Linked DNA regions of Homo sapiens: all the other regions are linked to region 7. The links are contacts of gene promoters, found by promoter capture Hi-C in blood cells and fetal thymus (Javierre and others, 2016). All regions are on one chromosome and are shown on one strand. The core of a region is centred on a gene start or on the middle of the fragment in contact, and the rest is flanking DNA. Distances in the headings are between cores, read along the strand shown. Region 1 has its middle 53 kb from the start of LINC02550. Region 2 has its middle 29 kb from the start of LINC02550. Region 3 has its middle 26 kb from the start of POU2AF2. Region 4 has its middle 43 kb from the start of POU2AF2. Region 5 overlaps LOC102723966 (a long non-coding RNA gene). Region 6 has its middle 72 kb from the start of POU2AF2. Region 7 holds the start of ARHGAP20 (Rho GTPase activating protein 20).

Evidence for each region. The method cuts DNA at HindIII sites, captures the fragments that hold promoters and counts their contacts. A CHiCAGO score of 5 or more calls a contact.
Region 1: a contact is called between a fragment that was not itself captured here and the fragment with the promoter of ARHGAP20 in region 7, in 3 of 17 cell types (M0 macrophages, M1 macrophages and total B cells). The highest score is 6.8, in M0 macrophages.
Region 2: a contact is called between a fragment that was not itself captured here and the fragment with the promoter of ARHGAP20 in region 7, in 1 of 17 cell types (M1 macrophages). The highest score is 6.5, in M1 macrophages.
Region 3: a contact is called between a fragment that was not itself captured here and the fragment with the promoter of ARHGAP20 in region 7, in 1 of 17 cell types (M2 macrophages). The highest score is 5.0, in M2 macrophages.
Region 4: a fragment that was not itself captured here is called in contact with the fragment with the promoter of ARHGAP20 in region 7 in 1 of 17 cell types (M0 macrophages); the score reaches 5.8 in M0 macrophages.
Region 5: a contact is called between a fragment that was not itself captured here and the fragment with the promoter of ARHGAP20 in region 7, in 3 of 17 cell types (M1 macrophages, M0 macrophages and monocytes). The highest score is 6.2, in M1 macrophages.
Region 6: a fragment that was not itself captured here is called in contact with the fragment with the promoter of ARHGAP20 in region 7 in 3 of 17 cell types (naive B cells, M0 macrophages and M1 macrophages); the score reaches 6.6 in naive B cells.

The regions. Positions count from the first base shown.
Region 1 is chr11:111,148,207-111,152,107 of GRCh38, forward strand. No RefSeq gene overlaps it. Among named protein-coding and RNA genes, the nearest start is that of LINC02550, 53 kb to the left of the region's middle. The HindIII fragment of the contact is 1,750 bases long and covers 1,097-2,846 here.
Region 2 is chr11:111,124,780-111,128,527 of GRCh38, forward strand. No RefSeq gene overlaps it. Among named protein-coding and RNA genes, the nearest start is that of LINC02550, 29 kb to the left of the region's middle. The HindIII fragment of the contact is 2,345 bases long and covers 1,172-3,516 here.
Region 3 is chr11:111,217,828-111,221,583 of GRCh38, forward strand. No RefSeq gene overlaps it. Among named protein-coding and RNA genes, the nearest start is that of POU2AF2, 26 kb to the right of the region's middle. The HindIII fragment of the contact is 5,885 bases long and covers 1-3,756 here.
Region 4 is chr11:111,201,137-111,205,114 of GRCh38, forward strand. No RefSeq gene overlaps it. Among named protein-coding and RNA genes, the nearest start is that of POU2AF2, 43 kb to the right of the region's middle. The HindIII fragment of the contact is 3,110 bases long and covers 200-3,309 here.
Region 5 is chr11:111,105,016-111,108,985 of GRCh38, forward strand. LOC102723966 (a long non-coding RNA gene) reads left to right here. Exons shown (of 3, transcript XR_428993.4): 3 at 448-981. It also overlaps the pseudogene RPS17P15. Among named protein-coding and RNA genes, the nearest start is that of LINC02550, 9.7 kb to the left of the region's middle. The HindIII fragment of the contact is 486 bases long and covers 2,474-2,959 here.
Region 6 is chr11:111,171,417-111,175,484 of GRCh38, forward strand. No RefSeq gene overlaps it. Among named protein-coding and RNA genes, the nearest start is that of POU2AF2, 72 kb to the right of the region's middle. The HindIII fragment of the contact is 6,572 bases long and covers 1-4,068 here.
Region 7 is chr11:110,710,916-110,714,554 of GRCh38, forward strand. ARHGAP20 (Rho GTPase activating protein 20) reads right to left here and starts at 1,522. Exons shown (of 15, transcript NM_001384657.1): 1 at 1,212-1,522. The coding sequence starts at 1,316. RefSeq lists enhancers at 1-386, 1,369-1,870 and silencers at 1,394-1,453, 1,474-1,633. The HindIII fragment of the contact is 6,153 bases long and covers 1-3,202 here.

The DNA.
Region 1 (3,901 bases), core at 722-3,221, 440 kb after region 7:
GAAAAAAAAAAAATCCATGAGCCATTGGTCCTGCCCTGCAGAAGCTCTGTTCATTTGCAAACTCCTGGGCGAGCCCAGGCAGAAAGGCATGTCTGTTCACCGTGTATTTTGTAAGAGTCCCACCAGTCTAAGCAGACTTGTTTATTTAACTGTCTTATATAGCTGCATATTCTAGGTCTCTAGTTCTGTCTGGGCTTAGGTTTCCATAATTCACATGAATTTTCAGTTTCACATTTCTGTAATTCCTTGTATCAAATGAAAACATAGAAGCACTCAGAAAAATAATAGCTCACATCTTTGAAAAATGTAAGAAAGTGGAATAGCAATAAGGAAAAAGGCCTTATTAATACCAATTTTATTATCTTAGCTCTATCTTAAATAAGTGGAAGTGGGTACTAAGGAATGGATTTGGCTTTCTAGAAACAGATGTTACTCTCATTTGGGTACTAGAGTTTAACAACTGCTTTTGGAAGTACCAAACAATGTTATCTAATTTCTTTATGAAACCAACACTTTTTAATAATTATGGACCAGGAACTGTGCCAGACACTAGTGATAAACAGATAAATGTGACCCAGTTCCTATCCTCAAAGAACTGTGCTTATCAGCTACCTCCTAAGGCAGTTCATTATTCCTTGTGGCTTCGTAAGTGTTGGTACTTACTACCTCCTAAAAATGTATCTCACCAGACGACATTGTCAGGATGATAATGCATCTCTACCCTAAGCCCTAGACCAGAATTACTCAGGAGCTTACAGAAATCTGGAAATAAAAACAAGTAAGCAAGGGCATCACACTGCAGGCTCTAATTGAGTCCATAGGAAATGTGCAGCCTGCCTCTTAATTTGGAAGCCAAACACAGATTGCAAACACTTACAGGAAGAAACAGTTTTTGGAGGTTATAGAGGAAAGTGATGAATGATGAACAAAATGTGATTTTGAGGGTTGTGAAAGGCCTGGGGAATGATGAGTCACATCATCCTGATAAGATGTCAGAAAACCAGATTTGACTTTTCTAACACTTCCTCCCTAAAAGGCCTAGAGAAAGGAGTGGTATCATTCAATTCTATCAGCACTGTGTTCATAATATTTAATAAGCTTTCATTATCCTCAAACAACCCTTGTCAGAGAAACTTATGGCACAAGGAGAAATGGAAAAGAGCATTGGTAGCAGACTGTTTATTTAGAATCTTGGATCATTTACTTAATTAACCTCCTTGGTCCTCAGTTTCCTAACTTACAAAATGTGGATAATTTGGTTGTTTGGATTCAATGGCATAATGAATGTATTGCACCTAGATAATGTATGTAGAGCACATTGCCTGGATCAATAAATGTTGACTGCCTAACAAAAAGATTTTAAGATTCACGTGAGGCATGCCTGAGGAGATATTTGTGAAGCTAATGGCTATACTTAACAGCAGTCAGAATATTTTGGCCAATAGCAAGTAAAAAACAGATTTGTAAATAATAACGGTTGGAATATAAGCTAAGTGTTTAGGTGACAGGCAAAAGTCCCAGAAATAAGAAGAGAGCATTGCACTGAACTCAATACATCCCCCGAGAGGGGCTGTGTAGTGGACAACTCTTATTCTTTGTGGCCATTCAGGACCTTTTGAATATCCTTCCTATGGCCACAGAATCTCCTTGCTTGTGAGAGCTGCCTCCCAAGAAAGAAGCCAGGAACTTACTTGTCTTGCTTCCCTTGCAACTAGAAAGCAAGCATGTGACCTGAACTTAATTGATAAGATGCTTCTGAGCAAGATCCCAATTCAGAAGAGAGTGTCATAAAGGGAGAAGTCACCATTCAGGATCTAGTCAGGTGAAGATCGAGAGAGATCCATATTTCAGAGGAAGTAGCATCTGGAGAGGAGCAGAGACCCTACTGGAAGCATTCTTAGCCCAGAATTCATGAGGAATTGGAAGCACCTGTGCCAGGTGAGCACCGAGGTAAGGGCTCTACAGGAACAGCAGGTGGAATGATTTGGGTGATGTTCCTGGCTACATGGCTGCCAAGCCTTACTCTACAGCCCTTCCAGATTCTATAAGTTATCTCATTGCCTTTTCTGCTAAACTAACTAGAGTGCATTCTGGATATTTGTGACCAAGTACCCTGGCTGACATATGTTCTTTAATAGACTTCTTGCCCATGTGTAGAATTGCACCGTAAACAGGCAGTTCAAAAGGAAATGTGGGTAACTGCTCCTGCCTAGAGAAGGGAGTAAAGGAGAGAAAACTCTGAATCTGACCCTCTGAACACCTCTCAATCAGTTTTCCTTTGATTCCATTGACTTGAATCAATCTTTTATTGACTTCTTGCCAAAGTTGACTAGTTTTATGCTACCCATGTAAATTAGATGTTTTCATTTATATTCTCAAGGCTGACATGACTATCTGGGTGTGTCTCATGCCCTTGATATAATCCTCCCAACTTTCGTTCAGCAGACGTTACTTGAGCCCCTGCTATAAGGCAGGCAGTGTTCTAGGCATTGGAAATATAATAATAAACAACAGAGATAAGTCCTTGTCATCATAAAATACAGTGCAGTTTAATGATATACGTACTACACAAACAATACCACAAAAAGCAAAGCATTATTAAAATTAATAACCAATAATGTGTTAGGGTGTTAAAAAATAATAACACCAATAATGTGTCTGAGAATTATTAAGGAAAGGCGTAGGGAACAGGAGGTATATTTTAGATTGTGTGTAAATCCCTTTGTGAGGAGGTGTTATTTGGGCTGAGACCTCAGTGATGATGCAGAACCATCCATGAGAACATCTGAAGAACATCTTCTTCCAAACAGAAGTAGCAGTAAGTGAAAGTTCCTAAGATAGATACAAGCTTGGCAGGCCCAAGTCTGAGTTGACATATTAAGGCTGAGGTACTAGTAAGTCATCAAAGTGTATCTGTCCAGCAAGAAATTGCATGCATGAATCATCTGAAGCATAAAGAAGTGGTCGAGACAGAGAATATTGTTTGTATCATCAGAACACTGGTGGTAATTAAAAAACAATGAGAATTGATGAGATTACCCAACCAGAGCAAGTACAGTGAAAAGCAAATGGGGTCAAGGATGGAACTCTGGACAACCCAAATATTTAACGGGCCCATAGAAGAGAAGGGATCTGTGAAAAGAGAGAGAAAAGTCCAAGAAGGAGAAGGAAAATGAGTATTGTGTCACAGAATTCAAGAAAATGGGATTTCAAAAAGTAATAAGAGGTTGCAGGTTAGACAAACGTATCCCTTTTATGTCAAAAAAATGTAAAAGGGTGTGTGGGTGTGTGTGTGTGTGTGTGTGTGTACACAAATAGAAAATATCTGAGAGTTGCTTATAAAGAAAATATTAATAGTGGTTATCACTAAGGAGTTGAATTGAGAGAGAAAGAAGAGTGAGGGAAACTTCATGTCCCCTTCATACTTCTCTCTTTTTATAGTAAGCATATATTTTATAATTTTGTGTGTTAGCGAGGGTCACATGTGGGAACCATCTTCTATATGGGGGCTAGTGAGTGCCCACTAGATGTGGCCATGGAGACAAGCAGCCCAGCATCTCTAGACATGGAACCCAAACCCAAGACATTTGAGGGAGATTCTTGGATTTCTAACAGAAGTCTTAGCAAGGTATGCTATTCAGAAGGCAAAACAAGCATATCATACATGAAGATGAATTTCTCCCACACATACCGTCAGATCTTTAACATCATAACAAATGCACATCCTTTCATTGTTCATCTCAACCACCCAAACTGAAAATACCAGTTTTTGGAAACAGCATGCTAACATATAATATATACTAAATCTATGTTCAGGCACCATTACTTACCAGTTTGCTTCCCGTGGAGGAAATGAAACTATACCAAGCCAGCAGACATTTATTCATTCATCAAACACATA
Region 2 (3,748 bases), core at 1,094-3,593, 410 kb after region 7:
CACCACAGACTTCTCTCTGTTCAGCTGCTCTCAGACCCAGCACTTTGAAGGCTGAGATATAGAGCAGCTGTCACAGAGAACTGGAACACTCTTGGGAATAGGGACTCTCAGCTCATGTAATTCATTTTTTTCTGAGTATAATTAGGAAGTAAGTGTTAGCTGGATTGCTGACATCCAGTATGGACTCCCCTGTTAGGGAGAGCTTTGAAATAAGTCATTTCAAAGGCTGCAGCTTCCCTCATTGCCATCTATAGTTTAATGACCTTGGTTTGATGTGGAATAGGTCAGAATAGACCAGATTACACTGACGTAGTAAATTAACTGAATGAAATCCCAGGAGTTTAAGAGAACAAAGATTTATTTCTTCCTCATGTAACCTCCATGGTGGGTCTCACTGACCCTTTAGGACAGGTATTACCCACAAGGTGATTCAAGGATTCAGGCTGCTTCAATCTTGTGGCTCCATCAATTCTATACAAGGTTCCCTCCTCAATAGCAGAGGAATACAGCACATCAGGATTTCACACCTGCTCCTCTGTGTTTCAGCCTGGAAGTGGTGAGCATGCCTTCTGCTCATATAGATTCATTGGCCAGGACTAGTAACATGGCCTCACCTTCTGAAGGTAAGGCCAAGTGATTAGTTGCCTACAGGAAAAAAAGTGAGCTGAATGTTGGGAAACATTAGTAATGTCTACTGCAGTCACTTGTCCCTTCTCCAGGCAAATGGGCAAGACAGTAGAAATGGTTGTACTCCATGCACATAGTTTCAGCCTTGCAGTTTTGTACAGAAAGAATGGCTTAGAGATATTTACTCTGGAAGGTATATGTTAGAGCTCCCTGGACAACTTCCCAGGACACACCCGAAACAAAACATGACTATAAGCTTCTTAAAAGTTATTTTCAAACTTAATGACAGTGTTATTTCTTAAAGAGATAGTCCACAAATTTATGAAGACCCCATAGCTGTAGCTTGCCGAAACTCATACCAAGTGAATACATAACCTCGTCCCAAGAGCAAGGGATTATTTAATTAGCTTCCTTTAGGGGTTGTATTGATTAAACGACTCAGTTATACAAAACACTCATGACCCCTGGTTACCTATATCTGATACTTATTGGTTCCCACAATTTGCCAAGTATTAGAGAAGGTCTTCTAGAAGAGATAGTCTTAAGCTTTCTTTATCATGTTGATTTCCCACATTATGAGATTATCCTTGCCTCCAACTGGCACTGGGCAGTCATAGCATTAAAACTCACACTATGGGTTAGTTTTGGTGAGTGGAAGGGAGTGGGGGAAAGTTATGCTAACTCAATCATGAGTAGTGATAAGCACCTGCCCATCATATCACCTAAAGTGGTGCTATTACTGTTCATAGCATCTGCTTTCTCTAAACTCCTCTTATGCATGGGATCCCATTACACAAACTTGCCCTACACATTAATGACATCCACATTCAACACTGTCTTCATCAGCTTCACTTCTCTATCTTCTCTTAGTAGTGGCTCAGTAATTACTTAACATTTTCTGATATGTTAACATCCACAGGAAGGGTTCTTCTTGGGCACTTAGGGGATTCATGAAAGGACTTCTGGTGGGGGATATAATCCTAGGGTGACCAACTGTTTCAGTTTTCCTGTCCTGGTATTAGAACTGAAAGTCCTGCATCCCAGGAAACCCCTCAGTCTGGAGCACACTGGGACGGTTGCTCACCCTACATAAACCCAAAGAAATTATGTGGATATTTTGGTGCATGTACAAATATACATTTTCCTAGAGAGTCCAGGGGCTTTATTTACATCCTCAAAGGGCTCATAAAAAGTGAATAAAGCCACCGATTTCCAATACTGTGGAAGAGCAGAGGATTACAAACTTCTAATACTCCTTCTCACTCCTACAACTCCACAAATGGCAGCATGATTCTATCTCTGTTAGCATTAGGATTAATCTGCAAATAATATGGACAGTACAGAGGACTGTGCAAATACTCATTTTACTTCCATTACTTATACTCATTCATTTATTCCACAAACACATGTTGATACTGACCTATACCCAGGCAATAGAGAGGGAGCAAGATGGTTTAGTCCCCGCTTCCCCCAGCTTACAATCTCAATGGGGATTGAGATTTACAACAGTAAAGTAGTAACACTTACAAACAGTAAGTAGCGAGGAGATAAACACATTTTTTTTCAGACAACAATGGATACCATGAAAAATAGAAAGGGTAATGTGATACGTAGAGATTGGAAGACGCATACTTTAAGGAAGGTGGTTAGGAAAAGCCTCTCTAAGGTAGGAACATTTGTGCTGAGGTCCAGTGAGTCATGCAGAGATGTGAAGAAGGTTGTTCAGACAGAGGTGGTGCAGAGGCAAAGGCCTTGAGGGAGGAATGAGCTACAGAAAGAAGACTGGTGTGATGGGAACATAGAGAGAAGCAAGTGCAATGGTATCAGATGCAGTAGAAGAGATAGAGGCCATGCAAAGAGTCTGAATTTCATTTTATATCCAGTAGGAAGCAATTGGAAGTTTTTTGAGCAGGGTAGTGACCTGATCTGACTTCCATCCTTTTCACAATCTTCCTGGTTGCTGTGAGGAAAAGGGATTACAGAGAACAAGAACAAAAGCTAGAGGACCCTTTCTTCCAGGTGAGAGAGAAGAGTGCCTTGGACTCAGGTGTAGGCAGTAGAACTGCAGGGACGCAGTCTGATTGGAGACATATTCTGGAGGTAGAGACAACAGAACTGGATACTGGGAATGAAGGAGAAAGGACAATCAAGAGTAATTCTGTCATTTATTTCTTAAATGCCTGTCTCCCCTTCGAGGCTGTGAGGGCCTTCCTGGCCAGAAGGGTACCTTTCCATGTGCTTCACCAACTAGCACAGGGCTTGGCATATGGTTCTTCTTTATAAATATTTGTAGGTAATGAATGGATAAGTGCCTATAAGACAAATAGTATTTGGTCTCTCTGCTCCTGAACACAAAAGAGAAAGGGGAAATGGGGTGAAGAAGAACTCATAATGTTTGTAGTTACAGCAGCAGCCACTGTTCTAACCAGGTTATAAAAACATAATTCCTGAGATCTGGTCTCAGGAAGATGGGAGATAGAATGAATCCTATGCAGACATAAGAAAGAAAGATGACCTGGGAGAAGCACTGTGCTTCCTAGGAAGTACCAAATGCTACTCCACACTGGCCCACATATGAGGTTCCTATGTTGACCTATTTAGTGTTTCTGAATTGCTCAAAGGTGACTCCTTATGTTGTCCTCCCCATCTTGTTTCCTGTCTTCCCTTCAAGGGATCTTTATATATTCTATGGATTATCTCCTGACAATAAGATTATCTAATTGCTCTTCTTTAACATTCTCCTTCAGATCTGAAAATGTTTCCCTGTTTCTCTCTGCAGACTTTGGCCAGAAGAATTTTTTTCCTACATTGACTCATCTAGTTCCTACTTGTTTTACAACATGACAGCCTAAATTTGAACTAGGAGATTTTACATATAATCTTCAGGGAAGCTTCTTCATTAACATTTTTAAGCAAGCACTGAAGAGTTTTCTCTCATCACAACAGATGGTGGAGTTATTTTATAGGTATGAAAATCAGTGCTTCATTTCTCAACAACAGTAAGGTCCTCAGCACTGAAATATTTTAATACTTTGTTGTGGGCTTTAAGCACAAGTCCACAAACGCATTTAATACTTAAATCATGCCCAGTGCCTGGCACATAGTAGAAGCTCAGTAAAAT
Region 3 (3,756 bases), core at 822-3,321, 510 kb after region 7:
TAATCCAAAGTATTAAATAAATATCCATTAATTCATACTGATATAAATGATTGAATAAATAAGTAAATGGCAGAGAAGAGGCAAATCTCTAGGTAGGACTCCAAATAATTTATGTAGATACTCCACCCTCAAGGGTGGACATAGTGACTTCCTTCCAAAGAGTACAGTATGGAAAGGGAGGATACACTAGCTTCACAGTGGAGAAATCTGAATAATACCTTAGCTAAGTGATCAAGATTAATATTAACAAAGATAAATCGCCCTTGATTTTAAATACCCTTGATATGATGTGACGATAATGGTACTTTACCTCTGTGGTCTTTCTCCCAAAAAAACTATGACCCCAGTCTCATCCTGAGAAAAACATCAGAAAAGTCCCCATCGACAGACATTCTACAAGATACCCAACCAGTATTTCTCAAGACCGTTAAGGTCATCAAAAACAAGGAAAGTCTAAAAAACTATCACAGCTAAGAAGAGCCTAAGGGGGCATGGCAGCTAAAGGTAATATGGTATCTTGTGTAAGATCCTAGAACCAGAAATGAACCTTTGGTATATACAAATGAAATCTGAATTAAGTGTAAATTTTAGTTAATAATAATCTATCATTATGGGCTCATTAACTGTAGCAAATGTACCAAAGTATAGTCAAGTGTTAAGGAAACTGGTGTGGGATATGTGGGAATTCTCTGTACCATCTTCATAATTTTTCTGTAAATCTAAAACTTATAAAAAATAAATTTTACCTAGAAAACTACAAACCTAATGATGTGCATACTATTACTACTCCCACTTTATAGGGGAGGAAACCAAATCATGGAGAAAATAATTACCTCCTCACAGCTGCCAGAGCTGGGATATGAACCAGTCTGATTGCTGAATCTGTGTTCCCACCCACTATACTCCACTGCCTCAAAAAGGAACTTGCTTCTTTTTTTTTTTTTTTTTTTTTTTTTGAGACGAGTCTGGCTCTGTCGCCCAGCTGGAGTGCAGTGGCGCCATCTCGGCTCACTGCAAGCTCCGCCTCCCGGGTTCACACCATTCTCCTGCCTCAGCCTCCCGAGTAGCTGGGACTACAGGCGCTCGCCACCACGCCTGGCTAATTTTTTTGTATTTTTAGTAGAGACAGGGTTTCACCGTGTTAGCCAGGATGGTCTCGATCTGCTGACCGCGTGATCCACCCGCCTCGGCCTCCCAAAGTGCTGGGATTACAGGCGTGAGCCACCACGCCCAGCCGGAACTTGCTTCTTTCCCCATGTTTACTAAAGGCTGTAATGACATCAGGGAAAGGGATCTAGTGAGCGCTTTCTCTCTTTCTCTGCTGGTATCCTCCCCACCCACTACCAGCTTTGGGCCAGGAAGGCCGAAGTAGAAAGGGAGCCGAAAGTACTGGAAGTTCCTGCTTGGCTGGTAACTGGAAACGACTGTAAGTTGGCATCAGGCTCTCTGGGTCCAACATGCTTAAAGCTGAAGGTGTTTCCATGGGCTCTTTGGAGGCTGCTTGTGGGGCTCCAACCAAGGTCCCAAAAAGTAGGTATTTTTCTCCATATCCCCTCAGCTCTGGCTCTTGGCAGTTTATGTCCTGCCAGGCTGTTCTCTAAGGCAGGACATAAACAACTCTACCCCATCAGCACCAACAGCTGAAAGTCCAGAGAAACACACAATACTAGACTCTCTACTCTCTCTTTGCTGCCATAGCAGCCTTAGATATCTGAGGTGTTCTCTACCTGCAAGGAACACACAGTGTGCACTTTTAATCACCTGAAGCCCCTCTCCTCCCCCTCCCCTCCCCTCCAATTAGGCTGGCAGGGAGGAAGCAGGTGCATTAACACACACACACTCTCTCTCTCTCTTTTTCTCTCTCTTACTCTAGGGTCAAAGCTCAGCTTTCTCTAGTGAAATCCTGTGCACAAAATCTAATCCTCATACTTTGCACTTGATCTGATTTAGGTGATCCAAGAATCGTGGAACCATTCTTTTTTTTTTTTTTTTTTTGAGACAGGGTCATGTTCTGTCATCCGGGCTGGAGTGCAGTGGCGCTATTTTGGCTCACTGCAACCTCTGCCTCCCAGGTTCAAGCAAACTTCCCACCTCAGCCTCTCAAGTAGTTGGGACTACAGATGCATGCCACAACACTCGGCAAATTTTTGTATTTTTTCTAGAGGCTGGGTTTTGCCATGTTGCCCAGGCTGGTCTTGAACTCCCAGGTTCTCACCTTTGTCTCCCAAAGTGCTGGGATTACAGGCATGAGCTGCCACACCCAGCCATGGAACTCTTCATAACCATTGCTTTAGAAAATCATGTATTATTTTTCCCACATCTCATTTTGGCAAACCATATCTATTACCTTAGTTGAAACTTGAACTTTAATGCCCTGGGCTTTTTTTATTGTTATTGCTTTTTAACTGTTACTTTAGGCTCAGGAGTACAGGTGAAGGTTTGTTACATAGGTAAACTCATGTCATGAGGTTTGTTGTACACATTATTTCATCACCCGAGTATTAAACCCAGTACCCAATAGTTATCTTTTCTTCTCCTCTCCCTCCTTCCACCCTCCACTCTCAAGTAGACCCCTCAAGTTGTTCCCTTCTTTGTATTCATAAGTTCTCATTTAGCTCCCACTTATAAGTGAGAGCATGCAGCATTTGGTTTTCTCTTCCTGCATTAGTTTGCTAAGGATGATGGCCTCCAGCTCCAATCATTTTCCCACAAAAGACATGATCTCGTTCTTTCCTGAGTTAATGTCCTGTTATGTATGTATATAAGCACATATTCAGGGACCAAGAAATACTTGTGAGATAGCTTAGTCATTAGACAATGCTAAAGATAAACCTATAACTTTTTATGTTACCTCCCTAACTAGATTATAACCTCCTCTAGTGTTATAGTCACATCTTCTACATTTTTGCAGTGCATACACACATACACACACAAACACACAGGTATAGAAACATAATTCTATCCTAAAATTTACTCAAGAAATCCTGGTAGTTGATTTGATGATGTATCTCTGTATACTTAATTCTACAAAAGCAATCAAGCATGAATCTGAGGTTAGAAACACATACTTTGGAGCCAGAACTTGGACTGCTGGGTTTCCAGCTAAGTCACTAGTAACCACCTGCAAAGCTGGCTTGGTTTATCATCAGCCACAGATTCAGACTAGCCAACCCTGAATATTAAATCAATGGAATGCCAAATCTTGCATCCAGAGCAAACTGAACACCCAAATATACATCATAATACATCATCCAGGTCAAATATTGTTTTTTACCTTATAATTTAACTGAATCTGTAAAAATAATATTATCAACTGGAAGATTAGCTCCTCTAAAATTGGCAGCGACAGAGCTTAAAATTCAGGTGAAATGCATCATTTTCACTCACAAGCTAGAAAATCAGCTGTGTTCACTAAATATGTAACAATGGGAGTATACCCATGGCTTCCCTGGTTTAAAGAAAAATCTTTTGTTTCTGAACGCTTCTGAATCGTTCTTCCTTGGCCAGCGATGCAGTTTTGCTTTCATAGCTCCTCCTTTACACAAGTGTGTCAAGTTTCTCATCTTCTATGTAGGGCCTTACAGGGATCCAGCACTGTAGTACAACAGGCTGTGCATGGACAATGGATGGATTGGTGGGTACTAAGGACCAACCACTTGCTCCATCCCCAGTCCTCACCAAGCCTAGATTTTTTCCCTCCTCATTGCGAACACTCCCATCTGCATTGTTTCTCTACCTCCTCTTTTTCTTCCCTAT
Region 4 (3,978 bases), core at 505-3,004, 490 kb after region 7:
TATCTTCACATGGAGGAAGGGTTGGAGAGGCAAATAGGCTCCCTCAATGCCTTTTATAAGGGCACTAATCCCATTCATGAGAGTGGAGCCTTCATGACCTAATCACCTCCAAAGGCCCCACCTCTTAACAACATCACCTTTGAAATTAGGTTTCAGCATATGAATTTTGGAGGGATACAAAAATTCAGACTACATCATAAGCTTCTGGTTTGTGTTTATTTGTCTGGAGGAGCTGATATTAAATTCTTACCTCCTGATTCAATTTTTTTAGGTTTTTTTGGTGGTGTTTGTTTTTGTTTTTTTGGTTTTTTGGTTTTTTTTTTTTTTGTATTTTGTTTGAGACAGAGCCTCGCTCTGTTGCCCAGGCTGGAGTGCAGTGGCGCGATCTCAGCTCACTGCAAACTCTGTCTCCCGGGTTCAAATGATTCTCCTGCCTCAGCCTCCCAAGTAGCTGGGATTACAGGCACATGCCACCTTACCAGTTAATTTTTCTATTTTTAGTAGAGACAAGGTTTCGCCATGTTGGCCAGGTTGGCCTCGAATTCCTGACCTCAAGTGTTCCTCCCATCTCAGCCTCCCAAAGTGCTGGGATTACAGACATGAGCCACTGTGACCAGCCTCAATTTTTCTGGTAGTTTTAGATCTATTCAGATTTTCTGTTTCTTCCTAAGTCCGTTTTTTAAATTTTATTTTTCTAGATAATAGTCTATTTCATATTTTAAACTTGTTGTCACAAAGTTGTTCATGGATGTTCTTTTTGAAAATACCCACTGCATCTATAGCTTTGTTCCCTTTTTATTCCTATTATTATTTGCTCTGTCTTTGCCATCAGAATAAACCTTGCCAGAATTTTATCTAGTTTATTAGAGTTTTTAGAGAACAACTTCAATTTTATTGAGCTATATACTTAAGATTTGTGCACTTCCGTGTACATTTCTTATAACTCAATAAACTTTTCCTAGAGAAAAAGAAAGGAAGGGAATGCTGAACATAGGATTCAGAATGTTAACTGCTTTGAGTTGAGGGAGCCAGAGGATGACTGAGACTTAGACTCCTTTAGACTTAGAGTGCTACCAGGGTCCTAGCTTTTGCTTAAAGTCGTGGTTTCATGATTCCTATTACATCATTAAAAATAAATACACAATTAGTCCACGCACAGACTAATGATGTCTCTGTCATGGGCCAAAGATTATAAGTCACCCAGTTCTGTGAACCTAGGGTCCAAAGGTTTGGTAAGGAGGGCTACTTGACTGGCGCAACGGTGATACGGCATCGGTGCCTTCCAGCTGTGGCAGATGGTGGAATGTGCCTTTTCTTTCTCTCCTGAAATGCCCTCTGGGTTTCTCAGAGTTTCCACTTCTGACAACTTACATCTGTATTTTGCTGCTCTGAGCAACCCTTCTCTAGGGGCCACTCGAGAGAACCACAGACCCTTGGTGTCTGGATTCTATATTCAAAATTTTCCTGCTGGAATGACTCCATTCTTCGAGGCAAAACCCTTTCTCAGATTCTCCCCACCCCATGATCAACATCTGGCCCACAAGAACATTCACCTTTACCCCCATTCTGTGTAAATGTAGCTTCTCCCATTGTAACTACTATTTTCCCTCTGCCTCAGAGCATCTGACCAGCCTCTTGACATTCTATGTTTCCAAGCATAAATCAGATACCAGGCATAAATTAGGACATTCCTACATCTCCCAAATTACAGATGATATGAGAAAACGTTCCGAGTGGTTATATATTTGAACCCTACCCCCAGCCCCATTTGGTTGACTGAAGGGGAGGAAACACTTAGCTCATCTACAACTCTCTCACTCTAGAATTCCTACTTATCAACATTGAAACCTCCCTTTGCATACTCGGAGGGCACTTCAAACCTCAGCTTTACAAGTTTTACCTGTTCTTCATAGGCGCTATAACACAGGATGTTCTCAGCCTTGGGGGACCTGTCAAAATTCTAAGACAAAAGAAATTGTGAATTTGACATGCTTTTACCTATATTTGGATTGTGAGTTCATCTTCAGTATGGTCTTATTTATGAGAATTCGGTGCAAACTACTTTAAGCACTTGCCCCTCCATGGTACCCTCCCATTGCCATGGTATTACTGGCTCAGGACAAATTTTTATGTTAATTTCTTAGCTGATGGCACAAATTCAAACCCCAAGTCAACAGGAAGCACAGGCTTGTCATTAAAAATTCTCAGGAAATTTTTCCACTCATGACAGGCAGTCTAGTCTCTCTTGTTGCCTCTCTGTACCTATGGACTATTTTCCTAATTCGTCCTTTTATTGACAGTATGGCCCTTCAAAGGTCTTGCTTTTATTCAAGTGTCTCAGGTCTAACTCATCCTCCCCCCTCATTTAGGCCAAACACTCATTGTCTAACCCCATATGAATACTAAAACACAAATCCCTAGATTACAGAAACTGACAACCACCAGCTCCTCAACCCTAGCCCTAAGACAAGGAATATGCTTCTTGATCTGGATTTTTTTTCCTCTTCATTTTTGGAATGAATTTCCCTTACCTTCTTCTAATCATGGCTCTGCCTGTAAAACAATGCCTGTCATCATTTCTTAAGAGCTGACAGGAAGCTAACTCACTCCAACCAATGATTTCCATGCCCCATAACCAGCCAGTCTGTTAGTGCTCAGTGTCTCCTCTCCATAAGACATCTTTCCTCTCACCTGATCCTCTGCTGCAGAAAACCCAGAGCTCCCCAGTTCTGCTTACTTGCCAGGGGAAGTAAACACCAGTCTTCCCACACCCAAACCAGGCCTGAAGGTCCTTGTTAGAAATTAAAATGCAAAAGAATCCCTCTCTCTCTCACCAAAATGGAGCAAGGCAGAACAAACCAGGTCATCAGTGTACACTTTCAGCTTCAATACAGTCCTGCCACTCTCTTTCCTACACTCCAAATCTTACCCCTCACTCAAGGCCAAACTTAGGTCTCAAAACATCTGTGGAGTCTTTCCCCAATACTGGAGCCCACACAAATGTCACCTTTACCATAACCCTATGGTATTCTTTATGCTACCTGATTATGTCTTGCCTCATACCATCCACTGTTTTGTATGTTAAACATATAGAAATTTAGTAATTTGCTTAGGTTTTATAATACATTGCATTCCTAGTCACAATATTGTTATGAATTGAATGTTTGCTCCTCCTTCCCAAAATTCATACATTGAGATCCTAATTCCTAATGTGATGGTATTAGTAGGTGGGGACTTTGGGAGGTGATTAGATCATGAGGTTGGATCCCTCATGAATGAAATTAGTGGCCTTATAAGGAAATATACCAAAGCTTTCTCTCTCTGCTCTTCTTTCTGCCCATGTGAGGACACAAACAGAAGATGGTCATCTGTAAACCAGGAATCAGGCTCTCACCAAAACCCAATCATGCTGACACCTTGATCTTAGGTTTCCCAGGCTCCAGAACTGTGAAAACATAACTGTTTAAACCACTTGGTCTATGGTAATTTGTTACAGCAGCCCAAACTGACTAAGAAAAACACAACTGATTTTTAAAGCATTATTTAGAGCTTATGGATCTAACCAAATGTAGTCACTTGGAAGAAAAAATATGTATATATTTATATATGTATTATGTTCATATATATGTATTTTAATAATGTTATCATTGCTGACATTTTTCTAAATCAGACACATTTCTTCATGATAAAATCTCAAACACCTTAAATCTTCAGCAAAACTCTAAGGTCTTAGAGGGCAGGGACTGGGTTGGGTACTCCTTTATTCAAGTTCCACACTCCTACGAGGCACATGTTGAAGTAGAGATTAGGAGTGACATGCCTGGATGACGCATGATGAAGGGACTGGGAAACTGAGGTAGGCCATTGAGGGACACGGATCTGGCAGAGAGAAATGGCAGCAGGCAAGTTCTCATAAGGTGAGGCAGGTCTTGAGGAGGCAGAGATTGTTGCTAATGATTAAGCCTGTCTGTCTTCTGT
Region 5 (3,970 bases), core at 1,467-3,966, 400 kb after region 7:
TTATAAAATAATTCAATATTCTTTATTATTTTCATAATAATATTTAGAGATTTTGTAAATATGAAGCATTTTCTTAAGTAACTATATAGTGATTGCAAGTAGAGGCATCCTTAGACGCCCGTATTTTTAATTTTCAATATGTAGTAGTTAAAAGTGTAAAAACTGGAAATTAACAGACATAGAATTGAATTATGGTATAGCCACTTACTGTTTGTGTTATCTGAGGCAAGTTATTTAACTTCTCTAGGGTTTTGCTCCATTTTCTATAAATTGGGACTAATAATGACACCTATCACATAGTAAAAATTAAATGAGATAATTCATGTAAACCTTCCAGAACATAGTAAGATGCCAGATGATCATTTTAAATATCCTATAACAACGTTCTGCTTTTACAGGGCAAAGATACTAACTCTTGCTTCTTTTTCTTTTTCTTTTTTTCTCCAGGTTTATTGAAAATGTTACAACATTTCAGAAAGATTCAAACAGCTCCATGTGGTGGATAGTCCAATCTGCAGGTCACTCAGCCTACAGTTGGGATGAATTTCCCAAAGTCCAAACCTTCAGCATTTCTCCAGTATCAAGATCTACTTCAGTGATCTCCTGATCCAAGCCTGAGACCTCAGGAGCATAATTATCTCTCCTTTCTCTCTTCTTCTCCTGCAACCTGATGGAAATACCTCTTACTGGGCCCCTGTGAATCTGCTTCTTCAGATGCGTGACTCAGCCTGCTATCTTGTTGCAGAGCTTCTTGCTGGGGATAATGACAGTCTTCACCCACTTGCTTGTTCATGTGGAAATCATTACCGGGGTGCATGTAATACTTTTCTATGATGACCCAGGCTACCTTCTTCACTGTTTTGGTGTGAAGGCTGCCCATCTTGGCAGGTCCTTGGTAAAAGAGGCCAAACTCTTTATACTTAAAAATTTACTTTGCTCATCTTACAGCCTTTTACATCTAAATATAGTTTCATCAAGTAACATTCTTACAATTATATTCATTTTTTATTAACCCTAATTTTGAACAGCAAATTCACTTTACTAGCATACTGAGGCAATCAATGACATAATTTGGATTTTGCAGTGATTAAATAGAGGATTGGAAGAACATTAAGAGGGGAAAGAGCAAATCAGTAAATTTTAACCTTAGGAGGTAGAATGCTCAGCAAGAGGCCTGGGATATGTAGCTTTCAGGGTTCAGTTATGAATTCAATTATGCACCCCATAATTCTTCATCTAAATCATTAGCTTACAGTCTCAATTGTCATCAGACACAGCAGGCATTTGGAACTTAGGTGCTTTGGGGAGAAGAGCAGACATGGTCTTTCCATTTGGCCAGCATCAGAATCCCTTCCTTTACTTAGGGAATTCCCAAGGCATAAGACAGAACCTATTTCTTGTTGTAGAAGCTAAAATTCCCTGACACTATTATACTTTACCCAGGCTGGCTTGCAAGTAAGGCAAAGGCACATGTCCTAGGCTCTACCAAATAGAGACACACACCCCAGTCTTTGAATTGAGCAATAAGGATGGAAAACTAAACAAAACAAAATACCACAAACAACTGTTGCTGGTGGCAACAATAGTAAGGATGACCAAGTCTGTAAAGTTTCAGTGGCAACCATGCCAGTGCTAGTACCCAGCACCCAGTGTCCAGCAGTATAGACAGGGCCAGCTGCAGCATTCATGCTCTGTGGAAGCAACGATGTTGTCCCTACAAGAATAGATGGATGATGTGACTAGCCAGGGCATTTCTCCTGTCTGCACAGCTTCAAGCTAGTTCTCCATCATTACTACTGATTCCATCCGCTTCACAGCATCCTTTCCCCACCACAATTTCTGATTTATTATCTGTTAGATTTGGAAACTGATCACATGAAACTGCAAAAATATCAAGTGTCTAAAATTTTTACATAAAACATGAATTACCTCTAGTTCCAAACTCATGAATTTATTAGTGTCCCTTTCAATCAAAAATAAAAATAAATTCTTTTTAGGAAAGAAAGCAGCTGCCATATCCCATTCTCAGAACACATCATTTAATTATCTTGGTCATAAACATTTCCAAGGTGAGAATTTATATTTCCCTCCCGTAGTTTCTGATGATCAAAAACCCCTTGTGTTCTTTATTGAAAGGGTTTGGTCTTGCGGCTGTTGGTTTGTCCCATCCAACGTTCATCATCTTCAGCTTTGCTTCTAAAGACATTTCCTCTGGTTCATTAAAAGCTGCTGCTTCTGAACACAGTTCTGGAATGATAGAACAGTCTCTAGACTTCCTTGGTCCTAATGTGATGGATATGACTAAGGCTTCCTTTGTTGTAGGACTGCCTATGGCAAATCCAAACTTAATGGTCTTTATAAACTTCGCTGGAAAGTCTCCACTTCTTCTTCAGTTGGTTGCTTCTCAGTGCTATGACCACAGTATTTTTCTCCATTCACCCTTGTTTTTATAAATTTATTTGCATCTTCTTCAAGCTTTAGTGAAGTTGAAACAACTTAACCAACATGAGCTATTTTTACTAAGAAGATTAATGGGAACAATGGCTTCAGAAAGCATTGTTATAAGGAAGTTACCTCTGCAGTTCTCACCTCCTAATGCAACAATACTGTCCCACCATTAGAGAGTATACAACAGAAATTGAAATTGTGTGGTAAGAGAAGCACTGTGAATGAACTCTGGTCACCCCAGCTCACTGTGTTTTCTCTGGCTTCTCCTTTTTACCATCCCATCACCATTTTCCTCTCCACTTCCTCTTTATCAGCCTAACTCTTGAATTCAGTTCTTTGCTCATATCAACCAGAGTTGGTCTCAGTGTAGCACTACAAACCCTTATTGATATGATGGAGATGATGAAAGAACTGGAACTATACTACCAGCTTCTTACAAAAAAAATTTTACTTTCAAAAATGACTTGCTCAATATTTTTCACAGAACAAATATGTTTCCAAATTAATATGAAGCTTGATTTCCAGCTTCATAGGAACAATCTTTCCTACTTTCAGGACCTTCTAGTGTAGTCTCCTCATTAGATCTGTGAAAACACCACTTTTCTGAAAGGACTAGCTCTATCATAAGTGTACTTTGCTTTTTAACATAAATTTATTATTTCATTATTCTAGATTTATGTGAACACAACACAGTGAACTATTTGAATGGACATTATAATGCAATACTAAGGATACAAGTAAAACATTTAATCCACTGCCTGACATACAGTGTAGTAGTACCTACTAACTTTTAGATTTCTTATCATGAACATACATGTAAAGTGCTATGCAACTATCCTCAATGGTTGTATTAAGTTCTTAGGGGTAGAACTAAATTCTTCTCATCATTTAAGACTCAGAATTGTTGCCTCTTTTACCAGAAAGCCATCCCTGATCTTCTCAGGCTGGATTAGGCACCCATACTTCATATTTCTATAACCTTGTACATAGGTCTTTCTTTGCACATAACCAAAAGATATTCCAGTTATGTATTATGTATCTGGTTTCCCCATGAGGCTGTGAACATCTTAATAGCATACAGTGCCTAGTACATAGGCAGCACTCAGTAGCATTTTGATAGATGATTGAATGCACTCCAGAATAGAAACAGAAGGGAGCTTATTGCATCCAGGGAGTTGCACATGGTTCCGCTGGCTGTGGCATTAATTTCAGAGAGTGCAAATGGTGTTCACCACGCATGGATGGTGACATAAACCATGCAAAGGAGCTTGGGTTTTATTCTGAGGCCAGTGACTTCTTTTCCAGAAGGAAGGGATAATGATCACATTGGTGTTTTTGAAAACTCATTCCGGGTCGCAGTACAGAGAAGAGATGAAAGGAGACAGGACTCCAGGGAGAGGCTGGAAAGTTGCTTTAGTATCTCATTCTCAAGAAAGAAACTGGAGCCAAAATGATAAAATCAACAATGGAAAGAAATTAATTACAGAGATATTGAATAGGTAAATCTGACAGAACTTGATGA
Region 6 (4,068 bases), core at 692-3,191, 460 kb after region 7:
CAAAAACGATCAGATCATGATGAAGCATTCAGAAGATATTTCAATGGCAGATCCATCCATTCAATGTGTAGGCTATAAATTATGTTTAATCCATTGAAGAATCACATCTAATCTCCTGTGCCTCTCTGAATCATTGTGACAACTTTCTGTTACTTTTTGTCTCCTCCCACGGGGCAAAAAGCTACCCAAAGGCAGGGACTTGGTCTCATTCACCTTCATGTCTTCTGCCTCTGGTAGAGAGGTAGTCTCATAAGGAACACTCAAAAACTGTTGCTGAATGAATGAGTACAGAATCTTCCCCAGAAAGAGATTATAAATTAGTACTATTGTAAGGGAGGTGACACATATTATAATATCTATAATACAAGGTAGAAAATAATAAATTTTATAAAGGAGGTTTAAAACAAAGTACAGTCGATTCTCATTGTTAGCAACAAGAGTTATGGCCCATAAAATTGCTCTGAACACTGAATTAGCAAGCACTAAATAGTTGCTCCTAGGAGAAATACAAGATTAGGTTCCTGGGAGCCTCTGCCAGTTGCGTTATATAGGTTTGTTTGAGAACTTCCTTGTAAAACAAGCCAGTCTCATCAGCATTGAAAACCTGCTCTTCCACATAACTCTTTCCCTGAATGATATTTAGCAACTATTTTTTAATTTTTTTTTTCTGAGACAGAATCTCGCTCTGTCACCCAGGCTGGAGTGCGGTGGCACAATCTTGGCTCACTGCAACCTCCGCCTCCCAGATTCAAGCAATTCTCCGGCTTCAGCCTCCCGAGTAGCTGGGATTACAGGCGTGTGCCACAACACCTGCTAATTTTTGTATTTTTAGTAGAGATAGGGTTTCAATTCTTCTGTAGCCTTCTGATCTGTAGAATCTGCCTCATCTGCAAGTTTAATAACTTTCACACCATATCACCTTTTGGAATGTGTGAACCAGCCAAGCCAATGCTAGCCAAAAATAGTGTCACATTCTCCTGATCCAGGGAAATGTGACCATAAATTTCTTTGGCTTCCAGTCTCACAACTCTGCTGTCTGCTATGTGTTTTTTAATCAGTTATCATGTCTAACTGCTTTTCTGCTTTTTCCATAGACTCATCACACACTACAGATGTTACTTTAGCAACCTCCACAGTGGCCCAGATTAGCGAATATCTCCTTTCTTTTTCTGGATGTACTGTATTGTTGATTCATCAACATTGAATTCATGGCCAACATCATATAACTCATGCCTGAAGGAAGCCTATTTAACATATGCATTTTCTCACGAGGCACATCACAGCCTTCTTGTACTTAGGAACACTAGACAGCACGGGGGACCATTTTAAGTAGCAAAATTACTAACAAAAAGCATCAAAATGCAAAAAACATGGCACTGAATAGACTTCCAAAAGGTCTTTTATTTAACATGAGAGCAGAAACAAAAAGGCAGAGTGTGGCCCTGTTTGACCTCAGCTGGGAACATGAGCATTTAGGCAACTCAGATTTTTCACCACTCTATGCGTGTCCACATATGACCTCAAACGTGCCACAAATATTGATCTGGAGTTTATAACCAAATTTAGCGAGTAGGTGAATTCGCAAATATAGAATCTAAGAAGAAGGAGAAGTACAGTGGGGATGAGTTCCGGAGGAAAGAAAGTCCTCTCAAAGGATTATTCTGAGATTCAAATGAGATCATCCATATAAAGGATTCAGCATCATGCCTGACAAACAGGCATCAATAGATTCTTATTCTCTGACTGGTCAAATGAGGTCACACCTCAGAGAGGAGGGAACTTTGAACTGGCCCCTGAAAGACAGATTCGAGACACGGATATGGATGGATGAGAAGAAAACTATTCAAGGCAGAAAGAAAAGTATAAGCCAAGGCAAAGAGGCAGGATATTAAAGAATGTATACAGGGGGAATCAAATGGCCACAACCTGGCTGAATCCAACACTGTATAAAGGAACTTGGTAAGAAAGAATTTGAAAAGGCAGGTTGGGCCAATTTACAGAGGGCCTTAAATTCCAGGCTGATGAATCTGGACACAATATAACAGGCCACAGAGCAGTCTTGGTGTTTGTTAAAGAGGAAAGTAGTGCTCAGAGCTGAGTTTCCAGAAGAATAAGCTGAGGATGGCATGTAAAAGTAATGGTGGTGTGGGGGCAGGAACTCAGGAAACCACTCGGAAAGTAAGAGTATCACTGATTGTAATATTCTTGTGGTCATTTTGTGATTTTGGAAGAATTGGATGGGGGTTAAAAAGGAAGAAAGAGGAAGGGTTTCAATGAAATACCTTCCCAAACCTCTTGACGAAAATAATTACTTGAGTCCTCATCAGTAATACAAATCCGCAGGCCTCAACCCATACCCTTGGGATGTGAATCTCCAGCACAGTGGTCTGGGGAACTGTCTGTCTGCCAGCCCCTCAGGTTGTTCTTTCCATCAGGGAAGTCTGGGAAACACTGTTTCTGAGCTACAGAAACTGAGAACAGCTACTCTACATAACCAAGCTGAGGACAAGAGAAATACCTAGACCCCATGTTTCCAAGCTCCAGTCTTCACCACTGCTGACTTGTTTTCTCAAGCAATTCTGTGCTTCCCTAAAGAAGCAAGTATGCTCACTCACGTGGAGCCCACCACCCCCAGCCTGGTAGTGAGGGAGTGCAATCGGTTTCATTAATAAAGCAGCCTCAGAGAGGAATTTCATTTAAAAACAGAGACAACTAACTATATTAGTTTGAAATAAGTTCTGTACTTTCTAAACTCTAAATACAAATTCATTAGTTTTTAATTCTTTTTTAAAAATCCAGATTCCACAACTCTATGAACTGTTTAATATGAATTCCCACTACAAATTCTAGAGCAGGAATACAAGGTATTTTCTATATTTACATTTAAGCAAACAGGTGTGAAGCAAGTAAAATGTGTTCAGAATTGCTTTAGACTCTACTAATGAACTGTGAAGATTTATTTTATGATCCGTGTCATAACGAATTCTATGGAGCACTAACAGAACCAAAAGGAAGACTTACAATTTTCAACAGTAGATATTAGATGGTTAAGACATCCCAGGAATCCAGTGTGTTTTTAGTAGATGTTATTAACACATTGTTGAGTAGGTTACACTGTATTGAAGAGGGCTCTAGAAAACAGACAGTGGGCACAAAGCTACACTGAGGACTGCATTAGAATGTATGCTTATTATTTAAATTTCCCTGAGATAATTTATACACTATTCATTTCCAACAAAAGATCAAGCGAGGCGTGGTGGCTTACGCCCTGTAATCCCAGTACTTTGGGGGGTCAAGGTGGGTGATCACCTAATGTCAGGAGTTTGAGACCAGCCTGGCCAACATGGTGAAATCCCGTCTCTACTAAAAAGACAAAAATTAGCTGGGCATGGTGGCACATGCCTGTAACCCCAGCTACTCGGGAGGCTGAAACATGAGAATTGCTTGAACCTGGGAGACGGAGGTTGCAGTGAGTCGAAATCACATCACTGCACTCCAGACTACATGACAGAGCAAGATTCGGTTTGAAGAAAATTTTAAAAAGATCGGAAGTCATATAATATTGGTATCTTAAAAAATTTAAAGTAATTACACAACTAAACTGGAGCTTAACCCACAAGGGCTCTTGGCTTTGCCCAGGAAAGAATTCAGGGGCGAGCAAGAGATGGAAGAAAGCAGCTCTATTGAAGTGGCAGTGTTACAGCTCCGGTGGTGTTACAGCTCCATGACTGCTCCTGCAGAGCAGGGATACACCTCAGGCCGTGTGCTCAGGGTAGCAGCTCAGGGCAGTTTTGCAGTCATATTTATACCGACTTTTAATTACATGTAGATTAAGGGGTGGTTTATGCAGAAATTTCTAGGGAAATTTCTTTTGGGTTGTTGGGTCATTGCCTTGGAAAGAGGTGGTAATTCCTGAGTGTTGCCATGGCAATGGTAAACTGACATGGCACACTGGTGGGCATGTATTATGGAAAGCTGCTTCCTCCCAGTCCATTTTAACTAGTCCTCAATTTGGTCTGGTGTCTGAGCCCCGTCTCTGGAATCGAGTCCTGTCTCCGCCTCCTACCC
Region 7 (3,639 bases), core at 272-2,771:
CCTTAAGATATTTCTTAAGGAAAAGCTAGAAGATGCCTCTAATCGCAACTTGTTTCCAGAAAAGCTGGAAGGGCACCACTAAGACAAGGCAAAAAAAAAAAAAAAGGCAAAATATCGGAAAGTCTTATGCTGGAAGCGGGGGTGGGGAGGCGGGGGACAGGCAGACAGGGCTAGAAACACCCAAATCAATTCCTCAGGGAGCGAAACGGCAGAGGCCGGCAGCCCGCGGCCCACGTGCACTTGCTCAGGGAACCGTTCCAGCGAAACCTGACCCGGATCGGAATCCTCCCGCAGCACAGCGGCCGTGTTTATCGGAATGGAACGCTACAAGTTGTCACCTGCATCCCTCTCCCAGCTTTGACAGGGAACACGCGCTGCCCCCACGCCCACACCGACACCCGGATCCCTATCCAGCCCGGCCAGAGTCCCAGGGGCCAGGGACCAGTGCAGGGAGAAGGTCCCCCACCTCAGCCCTCAGGACCCCCAACCACAGCCCACCCGCCCCCACCCTGCTCGGTTCTAGGCCCAGCCGAACCTACATGTCCCCGTAGTGTCGAGCGTTATCATCCACAGTCGCCCCTCAAACTGTGACCCCCACCTGGGAGACCCGGAATCATCCAGGACCCTGGTGTGGGGGGCAGTACTCCCCATATCTGCCCCCCGAAAACTGCTATGGAGCAGCCGCGCCTCGGCGGGCAGGTGAGGGGGCCGAGCCCACCAGCGCCGCAGCCCCGCTGCCTACCTTCTTCAGCGCCGGCTGCCGCTCCCGGGCAGACATCGCCGGCCCTGACTTTGGGGCTGACACCGCCAAAGGGCAGTCAGTGCTCGCCCAGGCCACTTCGGGAGGCCCAGGGGCACGGCGAGGGGTCGGGGAAAGGCGATCGCCCACTACAGCCCGCGCGCCTAGACTGAGGGAGGAGCCGGGCTGCAGAACCGGCGGCGGATGGAGACGGGAGGGAGGCTGCGAGGTCGCTCGAGGAGAGACTAAGGCTCTAGAAACGGAGAAGCGGGCGCTCTGCGGGAGGCGGCGGCGCTGCCGCTGGCCGTCAAGGGCGGGAAGTGTTCTGGGACTCTCATTAGGGGCCGCGAGCCTCGAGCGTCAAATTCCCGCGGCGTCCGCCTAGCGCGCTGCTGTGGCGGGCGCGGAGGGCGCGCGCCGGCAGTGGGGGCTGCGGCGGCGGAGGGCACGGGCCCCCGCTCAGCGTCCTCACCTTCTTGGTGCAGCTGCCTCCCGCGAGCCGAGACACTCCTGTCAGGGAAGAGGAGCGCCCCGGCTGTCCCCCTAGAGTCTCCTGCTGGGGGGACATCGCTTCCATGAAGAAAATCTTCAAACAAATCCCAGCCCAGGAGGAGGCTACACGATCATGTCCGCGGGCTGCCGGCCGGAGGGGCGAGGACGCGCGGGCGGAGGCGCGGCTGCCGTGCTCAGGCAGGGAGCCGAGCTCCGGGTGCTCGCCGCGCGCCTCCCGTCGGGGCCATGTACCTCCGCCTGCGCTCGACACCGCGGGCTGGAGGCGAGTGCAGCGGCGACAGCCCGTCAGCGCCGCGGCCCGCCCCGCCTCGGGCCCGCCCCCTCCGCTCCGGGCGCCCTGCGCCGGGGCCCGCCCCCGCAGCCCTCCTCAGCCCTCCTCCAGCCTGGGCCCTCCTAGCCTCGTCCCAGCCTGCGGCGCGCCTGGCGGGCGTCTCTCTATATATGTTAGCACACCGGCCACCGGCTGACCTTTTCGGTCTGTGACTCCGCGTGGGTGCAGCCCGCAGGAGCTCATCGGCCTGTGTCACGCACGGGGGCCTCTAGTGCACGGACACGCGCCTCTCCCGCCACCTGCCCACTCCCACCAGACCCCATCCCTTCCCGCGCCGTGCCCGCGGCGGAAGGCGCCCCTGCAGCGCGTGCATCCGCGGAGCGGTGGCGACCTCAGCCTGAGCAGAGGAGTTGCAGTGATTCCTGCCTCGCTTTCAGCGGACTGCGGAGGGAATCCCCCACCCCACCCCACTGGGGATAGGGTGGCACGTCGCAGAGTGTCGCAGCTGTACAAATTTGGAAGCCCACAGCATCGCCTGACCTCTTGTGCAATCCCGAACGCTAGCCTGTTCGGGTAACCCTGAGTGGGCTTCTGCAGCCGGTCATGTCAGCGGCCCCTGCACATTTGCACCCGCGGTTTCCGCTGTCTGCAGGCTGCAGAGACGGGGGCATTCCAAACGTGAAAGAGCAATGAAGGAAAATGCAGACAGAGCGAGGACGCCGAAATTTGGCTAAGCTATTGAGAAGGCTACAATATGTGGAAGTGTTTATCAGATATCTGCGCCGAGAGCATAACTTCCTGTCAGCCCAAATAGAGGCAAAAATATTTTAAAGGCCAAAGAATAATCAGAGGGAGAGGATTTGGAGCTGACCCGCGTTGAGCTGAGTGTTGCTGCACTTTGCGGGGCTGGTTGACTGGTACGGATGATTCGGTAGATGGCATTCTTCCCTTGGAGTCAGGACTAGAGAAGCAGTGGCGGATTAGTGAGGAAGGACACCACGCTATGATATTAGGTTGTGGAAGGGGTTTGGTTTGCTTTTGTGGTAAGAAGAAAAAAATCGAGGTTCCTGCCAGGTTAGGCTGTTATTAGGACAGGTTGTAGAAGAATAGGGCTCTGGCCGGCTCTGTTCCAAGGAAGGGATGCTGTCCAACACACACTCGCGCGCGCACACATCACCACCATGCCCAGGAATGGTTTATTGTGGAAATAATAGGGGGAAAATGTTCCAGCCCGTTTTAAGCCTTGTCCACCTCACACTGTTTAAAGTAGGCTTACATAGGCTTTATAAATCACACACACGTATAAATCACACACACGTATAAATCACATGTATGATTTGTAAATCATCTATTATTGTGTTTATGTATGTGTGCATATACACACACAGTTTTTCATGGCTACTCTCTTTTTGCAGCTGAGACCCATGTGCAGCGACAGGACTTTGCCCCCACCATAGAGTTTGTCATGAATTCTACACGCAGAGGGCTTTGCAGTTCCTTTCATTCCTTGCTGAAATCATCCACTTACAACTCGTTAGCCTCTTTTGGTTCCTATCATAAATGCACGCTCCCAATTTTCCTTACTCTGTTTTATTTCGATAACACTTATCTCCTTCTAATATATCATGTAATTTACTTAGTATGTTTAGTGTTTATTATCTATATCTCAGAGAAATGCAAGCTTCCAGAGGGCAGGAATCTTTTGTGGGCTTTTGTTGTTGTTGTTGTTATTGTTGTTCTTTGTCGTATACCAAGTGCTTGAAGCAGTGTCTGGTGCAATAAATGTTCGTTTGCTAAGGGAATTAATGAGGCATACAAGGGTTATGAGATAGATCTTAGAAGGGCCAGACTGGTAGAGTTGGTTGTTTCACTCAGAGTGTCCCATGTTTCTGTTTGTGATCTTCTTTTTTGCACAGGTTTGATCTGTGATCAATACTACATGTTCCAAATCAAAGTAGTATTTTACTGCAGATTTGGAAAACTCACTCTTACTTCTTAATTTTTAAGTGCTTTTACTTCAAAACCCATTAGTTTTGGTTTGCATAGAAAACTGTCCCATACCTAAAGAAAACTGACTTTGCTCAGATTAATGCTATCACCAGAATCGTGTTTTAAG